2 separate regions of the Homo sapiens genome follow, and region 2 is linked to region 1. The links are contacts of gene promoters, found by promoter capture Hi-C in blood cells and fetal thymus (Javierre and others, 2016). All regions are on one chromosome and are shown on one strand. The core of a region is centred on a gene start or on the middle of the fragment in contact, and the rest is flanking DNA. Distances in the headings are between cores, read along the strand shown.

The links. The method cuts DNA at HindIII sites, captures the fragments that hold promoters and counts their contacts. A CHiCAGO score of 5 or more calls a contact.
Region 2: a fragment that was not itself captured here is called in contact with the fragment with the promoter of TTK in region 1 in 2 of 17 cell types (non-activated CD4 T cells and naive CD4 T cells); the score reaches 5.7 in non-activated CD4 T cells.

The regions. Positions count from the first base shown.
Region 1 is chr6:80,001,732-80,006,586 of GRCh38, reverse strand. TTK (TTK protein kinase) reads right to left here and starts at 1,938. Exons shown (of 22, transcript NM_003318.5): 1 at 1,874-1,938; 2 at 605-745. The coding sequence starts at 743. RefSeq lists enhancers at 2,337-2,456, 2,027-2,901. The HindIII fragment of the contact is 2,460 bases long and covers 636-3,095 here.
Region 2 is chr6:79,663,382-79,668,332 of GRCh38, reverse strand. All of the region lies in intron 1 of SH3BGRL2 (SH3 domain binding glutamate rich protein like 2), which reads right to left. Among named protein-coding and RNA genes, the nearest start is that of SH3BGRL2, 35 kb to the right of the region's middle. RefSeq lists an enhancer at 4,372-4,951. The HindIII fragment of the contact is 1,226 bases long and covers 1,260-2,485 here.

The sequences.
Region 1 (4,855 bases), core at 689-3,188:
TCATCTAGAAAGAAACTATGGTTTTAAGCATCTTTGAATCTTCCTCAGTACTTAAAATACTCAATTGCCTTGATGTACAACCTTTGTTAGTGACATAATTAAGCACAATTATACTCCATTAAGATTTTGCTTAACACTAAAACTATCATTTTCTAGGTTTTTTCAAAGTGAACAGTCAGCCACCATGATTAGATCACAGGTTCTTCCATTTATTTTCAATTCCTCATCTATTTAAAGGTTAGTATAGATGTAAGAAAATTATCCAAAGGTCACCATTCAAATGACCAACCATTTGAAATACAGTAAAGAATCAGGCTTCTGAGCTAATACTTTTAGAAGAGCTAGAGTATTAAACTCTGGGCATTTTCACCCATTAATCATTGTTCAATAAATGTTTAAGTGCCTACCTACCATGTGCCAGACACCATTCAAAGTTCTGTGGATATAACAGACAAAAACCCTGCCATCATGTAGCCTGCATTCTAATGGAGGAGAAAGACAATAAACACATGAGTAAATTATAAATAAAGTGATTAGTACTATATCTTTACCTTAGAGGATACCCAACAAACAGTTACTAACTTAAAAGAAAAGAAAAACTCACCTGTAGTATCAGCAGAAATTTTATTCAAGCTTAGTTCATCAGTAAGGTCTTCATTTTTAAACTTATTTTTAATGTCTCTCACTTTGTTCATTATGGAATCAATTGTCAATTCTCTGCCACTTAAATCCTCGGATTCCATTTCTAAGAAAAAAACTGAACAGTCATAACTCCTACTTTAACTAGCATCAAAGAAAAAAATGCACTAGCTTTTTAGAACCCAGACGACTAAAGCATTCGTTTTGTGAACACATCTAAATGCAGCTATTATTAGGCTAGTATTAATGGAGGTAAGTGCACAACAACAAGGTACACATCTTTGTAATTTATTCACCAAGGTTTCATAGGCCAAGTATACTTTTTCCCCCAATATAACATCAATGACGTCACACTGTAGAAATCTGCAAATTTAGTGTCACTTAAAAAAAATATGATAGAGTGTTTGCTTGGATTTTGGTAGCGACATACACATAAAGATTGCTTGGATTCTGGTAGTGACATAGACATAAAGAATTCGTTTGGCAATGGGAATAACAATTCCTTTATTCGCCTGCTTTACTTGAGTAAATCTTCCAGTGCAAGTGCTTTCAAAGCAGAATATAAACATGATGGGGCTTTACTGATAATTAGGAAATCCGCAGATTTATTCTTGTGCATATCTAGCAGAATCACGATTTGCTACCTTAATCTAACACTAAGAAACTATTGTACTGGTACTGAGCACTTGCTTATCTGCATGGTGGTGGTGTTTGTTCAATAAAGTGTCTGCAGTCTTATTGTTAATCGTATCTTTGTGACTCTCAAACACCAACTCAGTGTCACTGATAACAATGCTGCCCCGTCTTCAGGTTTAACAATGAAAAAAAGTCATAAAGTTGCAGCAAGGTATCACTCCACCTCTTAAGTCAGGTTTGAAAGATAACTGTCAGATCACGGCCACCCGCTTCTTTCCCAGTTCTAACCCCCAAAACAAGAGAGACTGTCCTTTGGAAAACGATCTTGTGCGCAGGTACCCCACCACCCCTTCTTTCCAGCGTGGGCCACACCCACTTCTTACTTCCTCAACAAAACCTCCTGCATCACCCCACCGGCCAGACCCGCTGAGGCAGTGAGACATCCCCTCCCCCTCCAGCTCGTTTAGCCGCGTCGCATACCTGGCTCCGAGCTGCCCCCACCTCGCCCCACCCCTCACCGACCAGCGCTAACAATGAGCCCCTACACCGGCTGCGGCTGTTCCTCAGTGCGCCGGTGCACCGGTAAGACAGAACTTACCTACAGAAAGCTGCGCTGGGGAAATGAAAAGATGGAACCCAAACTCCTTTCCGCAAACACGTTTGAATTTCCCCGTCGCTATCACTACGGTCTCCTATTGGTCAATGCTAGCCACGTAGAAGCGACAGTCGTGATTGGTTCTTGTGCGACGGGGGCCGCCCCTCCTCCTGCGTCAGGCTAGGCCCGCCCCGGAAGAGCCTGCGGCCGCGACCCCACCCGTGCGGCGCCTGGGTTGGTAGGGTGCTGGCACTTTGCAGGCGTTCCCCGGACGCCCGTGGGCGGGCTTTCCTGGTCTTTCCAGTTTAACCAGGCCGAATTTTTGCCTGGGAGGTAGCCACTCCCGAGCAAACCTACCCAGTGAGAGGAATATAGGGGCAGGGACGGCTGCTCCTAGCATCAGGACCTAAAAGATGCACCTTGGGCCGGCCCTTTACTGACCCCACCGCCACCCTTCTCCTTCGTTTCCCGCGGTTCTCACAGCCTGGCTTAGAGAGGATGTGGCAAGAAAGGATCTTTCACTGAGCTACGTTCAGCCCTGCCGCCAGCTCAAGAATTTCAGTGCTTTTTATCCTTGAGCTTCTGCTTATGCCCTTCCATTATCCTTAAATGACTCCACGCTCTGTCTTCAAGCCAAGACCCTCCCCCTTGTCAAAATTCTGCGCAGAACTCAAGCGCCCATCGTGATTGCCCTGTCTGAAGTCGCCTTATCGGCCCCCCTCCCTCGAAGCCTGCCCCACTTAAGGGCTCAGGTGTCCTCAGGGGTAAAAACATCTCCCTAGTAATAATCTTCGCGGGTGCGAGGCTCTGCCGCTAAGTGGCTTTGTGGTCCAGGGCAACGGTTACTCCTCGTCTGCAAAACTAAAAGGGATGTGTCTGTTGTGCCAGCATTATGACATATATTCTGTGGTAGGACGGGTTGGTTTTGTGTATGTATAGGAAACTAACTGCAGCTGTCACTTGTTAACTCCAAAGCTATCCTTAGAACCCTCACATTCCCAGCTCTGGATAGCCACCCAGCTAGCGTGAGAGCCCTTCTCAATCACTTAATGCATCTTTCTGTGTCAGCTAGCTAGTATTTCTGCTTCAGCAGAGCAAAATGACTTGCTATACCATGGTTGGCTAATCACTTACCTTTGCACCATTGCATCTAATGCTTCTGCCTGGAAAGAGTTTATTATTCCTCCAATTCTCGTTGATCTGTTTGCGGCCTGATCACAAAGCTTGCATTTTCCTTAAAATACTGTTGCTGGATGACCTCACCCTAACACTTCTTTCTGTACTCTCGTTTGGTGGTCTCCTTCAGTCTTCTATTTTTAAATACCATCTATATGTTGATGGCTCCCAAATGTGTATCATTAGCTGAGCTCTCCTCAACTCCATACTCAGATATCCACTGCCTACTTATTAACATCTTCACTTACATGTCTCATACGCATCTTGAACTCAAAATGTCCAAAACCAAGCCCCTGATCTTCCTACCCAAACCTGTTTTTTTTACAAAATCTATAAAAGACAAATTCATTGTCTTAAATTTTTTAGCCCCAAAACCTTTGTGTCATCCCTGATCCCTTATCTAACTCATAAGCAGATTGAGTCAGGGCTGGCACAAGAGATTCCTGGACTCCTACCAGTTCTCCCCACCTCCACTGCCACCACTTCAGTCCAAGGCATCTGCATCACTTAACTGATGTTACCTGCAGTAGCCTCCTGGCTGGTCTCCCTGCTTCTGCCCTTGCCTCACCTCAATTTATTCTCTGACATAGCAAAGTCATCTTAAATCAGATTATGTCACTACTTTGCTCAAAACCCTTCAGTGCTCCCTTTCTAGCTCGGAATAAAATCAAAAGTCCTTGTGATGGTCTGTGACTATTGAGCACTTGAGTATGTCTAGTGCAACTGGGAACTGAATTTTTAAATCAATTAACCTTAATTGATTAATTAAATTTATATTTAAATTTGAAAACTGATATCTAATGGGATTATTTTTAAACTATTTAAAGTAATTTTTTTTGCTTTCTTTTTTCTAAACTTGCATTAGTCATGAATTTATTGGAAGACTTTTAAGTATACTTGGAACAATGTAAGTATATGAACCTACTTTTTCAACTGTAAATTTTGTGAGAACCAAATGCAGATGAAGTATTTCCAGTGAAAGTGTCTGAGTATGAAATGTGATGTACTGTTAAGTATAAAATACACTCTGGATTTTGAAGACTGAATAAGAAAAAGTAATAAACATTGATAATTTTAAAAATATCAATTACAGGTTAAAATGATATTTTTGCTATATTGAGTTAAATAAAATATATTATTAAAATTAATACCACCCCATCACAGAGGAGACTAAGAAGACATGACAACTAAATGCACTGTGATATCATAAACTGGATCCTGAAACAGGAGGATGACATTAATTGAAAAATTAGTAAAATTCAAATAAAGTCTGAGGTTTAGTTAATGAAAATGCACTAATGTTGGTTTCTTGGTTTTGAAAAATGCATCACAGTAATGCGAGATCTTAACAGAAAAACAATGAACAGTATACAGCAATTCACTGTACTATTTAATACACTTGGAATTTTTTTGTAAATTAAAAATTATTCAAAAATAAAAAGTTTATGAAAATTTAATTTCACCTGTTTCTTTTTATACTTTAATATGGCTAGTAGGAAATTGAAAATTACATATATAGCTTACATTGTGTTTCCACTGGACAGCGGTGATCTGTAAAATCCTACAGTTTTACCTATTTGACCTATTTATTTATCTTGTTTATTTTCTGACTCTCCAAACTTTACCCCCACTAGAATGTAAACTCCATAATACAGGAATTTTTGTCTACTTTGTTCATTACAGCATCCTTAGTGCTTAGAACAGTGCCTGGTACATTTGTAGGCACTTAATAAATGTTAGCTAAATACTAATATTTACAACCATTAGAGTATTTAAGAATCCTATTTTATTTAACACATTTGTATACTT
Region 2 (4,951 bases), core at 623-3,122, 340 kb after region 1:
CCTAGAGTCCCTAGGGATTTGATTGGAAGACAGGCTAAATAATTACCTTGCACGTGACTCAGCCTTAACCCCCTACTCTGTGGCACTGACTGCTAAGTAAACTTGCATGCCTCTACTCTCTTCTTGTAGGATTACTTCTTTCCCGGGAGGATCCCAGTTAACTTATATAATTAAGCAGCCCCTGCCAGATTCCTTCCATAGGCTTCCAGACACGTCTAGCCATGTTTGAATTCCAGGGTATACATAGCTGATGCTGCACCATGGGACTCACTAGCTGATGCTGGAACCTTGGGACTCACTAGGAAATAAAGAGACATAATCAATTTGAATAAGAGTTTTTTTAACATTGAGATTGAATAAGAACAATAATGGGAAACAAGTTTATCTGAAGACAAATGAGCCACAGAGGACAATGAGGAAAACTGGGGGGAGGTGGGGCCGGGGGAAGTATATATTTTAGAGTCAGATTGTCCTGGTTTTAATTTTGACCCTGACAGATGGGTAGCCTTGGAGATATTACTTGGCATCTCTCTTAGCTTCCATTTCCAAACCTGTGAAATAAACTGCTAAATTAAGTTTAGCCTAAGGCCAGGAGCGGTGGCTCACGCCTGTAATCCCAGCACTTTGGGAGGCTGAGGTGGACAGATCACCTGAGGTCAGGAGTTCGAGACCAGCCTGGCCAACATAGTGAAACCTCATCTCTACTAAAAATACAAAAATTAGCTGGCTGTCATGGCATGTACCTGTAATCCCAGCTACTCAGGAGGCTGAGGTGGGAGAATCCCTTGAACCCAGGAGTCAGAGGTTGCAGTGAGCTGAGATCACACCACTGCACTCCAGCCTGGGCGACAGAGTGAGACTCTGTCTCAATTAAAAAAAAAAAAACTTAGCCTAAAGCTACCTCCTTACATATTTTGAGTTCAGCCTAAAGGTTGCTCCATCCATAGTGAACTGTAACCTAACTAGATACGTAAACAGATTGTAACCTACTCTTGGACCAATCACAGCATTTCAGCCAATTAAGGCAGCCAACTATTCGAACTGTGTCCAAACAAGGCAAGCGCCAAGCTGTAACCAATCTAACTTCCATTAGATTATTCCCGTTTTTGTACCTAACTTCCTTTTTCTGTACATAAATTCTTTGTGACTATGAAGCAGTGTCAGAGTCCTTCTGAACCTATGCTGGTTCAGGGGGCTGCCCAATTCACAAAATATTCTTGGTTCAGTAAAACTCTGTTAAATATAATCTGCATAAAGCTTTTCTTTTAATAGAACCCAATTATCTTTTTTCCATAGGTTCACTGGAAAATTAAACAAGAAAAGGCCTAAGCAGTAATGGGCACCTGCTCAATTGTTTCATTCACTCAAACATACTAGCTTTTCTATCTTTGCCCTAGATGTGGCCTCTGTCAAAAATATAGTAACTTCTGAGTGCTTTCAAAGGCTTTAGATATTCAACACAACAGTTCTTTATTTCACCTGCTTTCACACTTCAAACACACAGCTTTCTTTATTCTGACTTGGGGTAGATGTAAGGCTGATTAGGACCTCTTATGTATCTCAAATAGAAAAAAGTCAGACAGTGAGAGAAAATAGAAGGGAAAAGTTTTTTTTAAAACAGCTTGACGAAACTTACAAAGGAGGGCCTGGACTGGATTAAGGAAGGTAGAAGGCCCTAAGTTGATTCTTCCTTTCAACTAACAAGGGAGGAAAGGGCTGAGGCTCTTTCCCTTGTCAAAGACCTCAGGAACTTTCCAGTGATTGAGTAGGGTACCTCAAATATACCTAATTTCATGGCAAATTCTTTAAATAAAACACCATCCTTGGCCTTATTAGGGATTATGCTGTCAAAAAAGAGGATGCAAATGGCAGAAAGTACTGTGGCAGACATTAGCCTAGTTACACCAAAGCCATTCATGATCTGCCCTGTGAAGTCTAAAAAACTAAAGCTCAGTGTACTAGGTGGAGCTTCTGGACAGAGCTTGGCTTTTCTGCTGAAGCCGACAGATTACAATGCTAAGGCCCCTTGTCCCTGCCCTTCCTCATTCTTCCAGCTTGGCATCCAGATGTGAGGGCTAGTGGTGTGGGGCAGCCTTTCCACGTTGAGGTGACAGGCATCAGAAAAGGCCAAGAGAATCCCAGCAAGGCAGGCCCTCGACAAGTTCAGCCTCCAGACTTACCAGGAGAGACTGAAACACCTCTGTTTAAGCTCATGTTAGACAGGTTCTCTGTTACTTGCAAATGAACACATTCCTAACTGAAACCCTCAGCAGTACGCCTCATTGTTGGGGAGCAGGGCAGGGGTGTAGAGTAACCCCCAAGAAGCCATTTGCTAACTGGCAATGTTCTAATGCTGCTTAACTAAATGAGAGATTATACATAAAGTACAGTGTCTCCAGTTTCTATTTCAGTTTATCTTACTAGAAAGCAAATACCAGATTACCAAGCCAAGGATAAAGAGGCTGACTTACAAAAGACTGAAGCTTGAGTTTTACAGAATCCCTGTCAGAAAGACAGATTATAAAATAAAGGTCAATTTTTGAAAAACTGTTAGTACATGTTATAAATTGAAACAATATAATTTTAATGATAGAAAATGCTGTGGTTTTCCATCTATGTATCACTAGCACAGTCCCTGGCACTTACTACATGGGCAAATATTTGTATTAAACAAATAAATATTATTAAGCTTGAATTCATACTTTTAACTTTGGTTTTCTTTTTAACCAGTCAATATTTTTGGTCCTGTTTTCTTGATCAATTTGCATTGGTTTCTTTTTTACATGTTTATAATATGGTAAATCATCTTTCCCATTTGAAATTTTTTAATTTTAAAAAACCCATAATCTCATCACGCTGAGGCTTTTATTTTTCATAGAACCTTCCAGGGAGCCCACATTTAGAAGTAGACTTTATATAGTTGCCATAATAACAAATGTTTTGGGGAAGGATGTTTCTGTTGTATTACGAATATTTTTTGTTTCTAAAATCTCCATAGCTATCTTATTGCATGTATGAATTATATTGAGTACTTATGCTAATGTATTTAAACATTATTCTAACATTGGAGATTTAGGTGTGTTGTAAAGATGGTGTTTCAAATTTGCTGAATTTTTATTTTTTTATTTATTTAGAGACGGAGTCTCGCTCTGTTGCCCAGGCTGGAGTGCAGTGGCTCGATCTCAGCTCACTGCAAACTCCTCCTCCTGGGTTCAAGCGATTTTCCTGTCTCAACCTCCTGAGTAGCTGGGACTACAGGCGCCCGCCACGACGCCTTGCTAATTTTCGTATTTTTAGTAGAGACGAGGTTTCACCATGTTGGTCAGGCTGGTCTCAAACTCCTGACCTCATGATCTGCCCTCCTCAGCCTCCCAAAGTGCTGGGATTACAGACGTGAGCCACCATGCCTGGGCAACTTTTTCAATGATAACAAATGGTTATTAGTAGTAGGCTACCTAGCAGTACTAAAACACAGGGACTTTACACAGATTTTTCTAAATCTTGTCTCCTAAAGTCTTTCAAATGAAATATTTCAGTGAATTGTTTTAATGTAACATCTTTCCGTCTTTCCATTGGTTTCCTGGAATAGCTAATTGACATCATGGAACATAACATGATTTCAACTATCAAACTGTTAACAAAAACCTTTATATGACTGATGAATGGGAAGTAGTTCTGGCTGCTGCAAGTGGGACACTGAGGTCTGTGTGGGACACTGGTTGGTCTGTGAACATGTGGCTTTGCTGGACTGAACACAGTGACAGTGACACCAAAGGCAGCAGCCTGAACCTCAATTGGGCCAGTTGGCTTTATTAATGTTCTAGTCCTGAACAGTCAAAAAGGGTTGGGTCTGTGTCACCTTGGCCAAGATACTTATTCTACCAAAGCCTTGGTTTCCTCATCTGTAAAACACAGATAATAATTCAGCATAGAGAACTGCAGTGAAATTTAAATGTCATAATGTTCATAAAGTTCTTAGTGCAGTGCCTGGCATGCAAAAAGAGCTAAACATTAAATCCAATCACAAGTCCGTTCCAAGGTGGGTGAATAGGAACAGCTCCAGTCTGCAGATCCCAGCGTGATCGATGCAGAAGACAGGTGATTTCTGCATTTCCAACTGAGGTACCTGGTTCATCTCATTCGGACTGGTTGGACAGTGGGTGCAGCCCACGGAGGGCGAGCTGAAGCAGGGTGGGACGTCACCTCACCTGGGAAGGACAGGGGTTGGGGGATTTCCCTTTCCTATCCAAGGGAAGACATGACAGACTGTACCTGGAAAAACAGGACACTCCCACTCAAATACTGTGCTCTTCCTAGGTCTTAGCAACTGACAGACTAGGAGATTCTCTCCCATGCCTGGCTTGGCAGGCCCCACGCCCTGGTAGTCTTGCTCCCTGCTAGCCCAGCAGTCTGACATCAACCTGCGAGGCAGCAGCCTGGCTGGGGGAGGGGCGGCCGCCACTGGGGAGGCTTGAGTAGGTAAACAAAGCCACCAGGAAGCTCAAACTGGGTGGAGCCCACCACAGCTCAGCAGGGCCTACAGCCTCTATAGACTCCACCTCTGTGAGCAGGGCATAGCTGAACAAAAGGCAGCAGAAACTTCTGCAGACTTAAACGTCCCTGTCTGACAGCTCTGAAGAGAGCAGTGGTTCTCTAAGCACGATGTTTGAGCTCTGAGAACGGACAGACTGCCTCCTCAAGTGGGTCCCTGATCCCTGTGTAGCCTAACTGGGAGACACCTCCCAGTAGGGGCCGACTGACACCTCATACAGGCGGGTGCCCCTCTGGGACGACGCTTCCAGAGGAAGGATCAGGGAGTAACATTTGCTGTTCTGCAATATTTGCTGTTCTGCAGCCTCTGCTGGTGATACCCAGGCAAACAGGTCTGGAGTGGACCTCCAGCAAACTCCAACAGACCTGCAGCTGAGGAAACTGACTGTCAGAAGGAAAA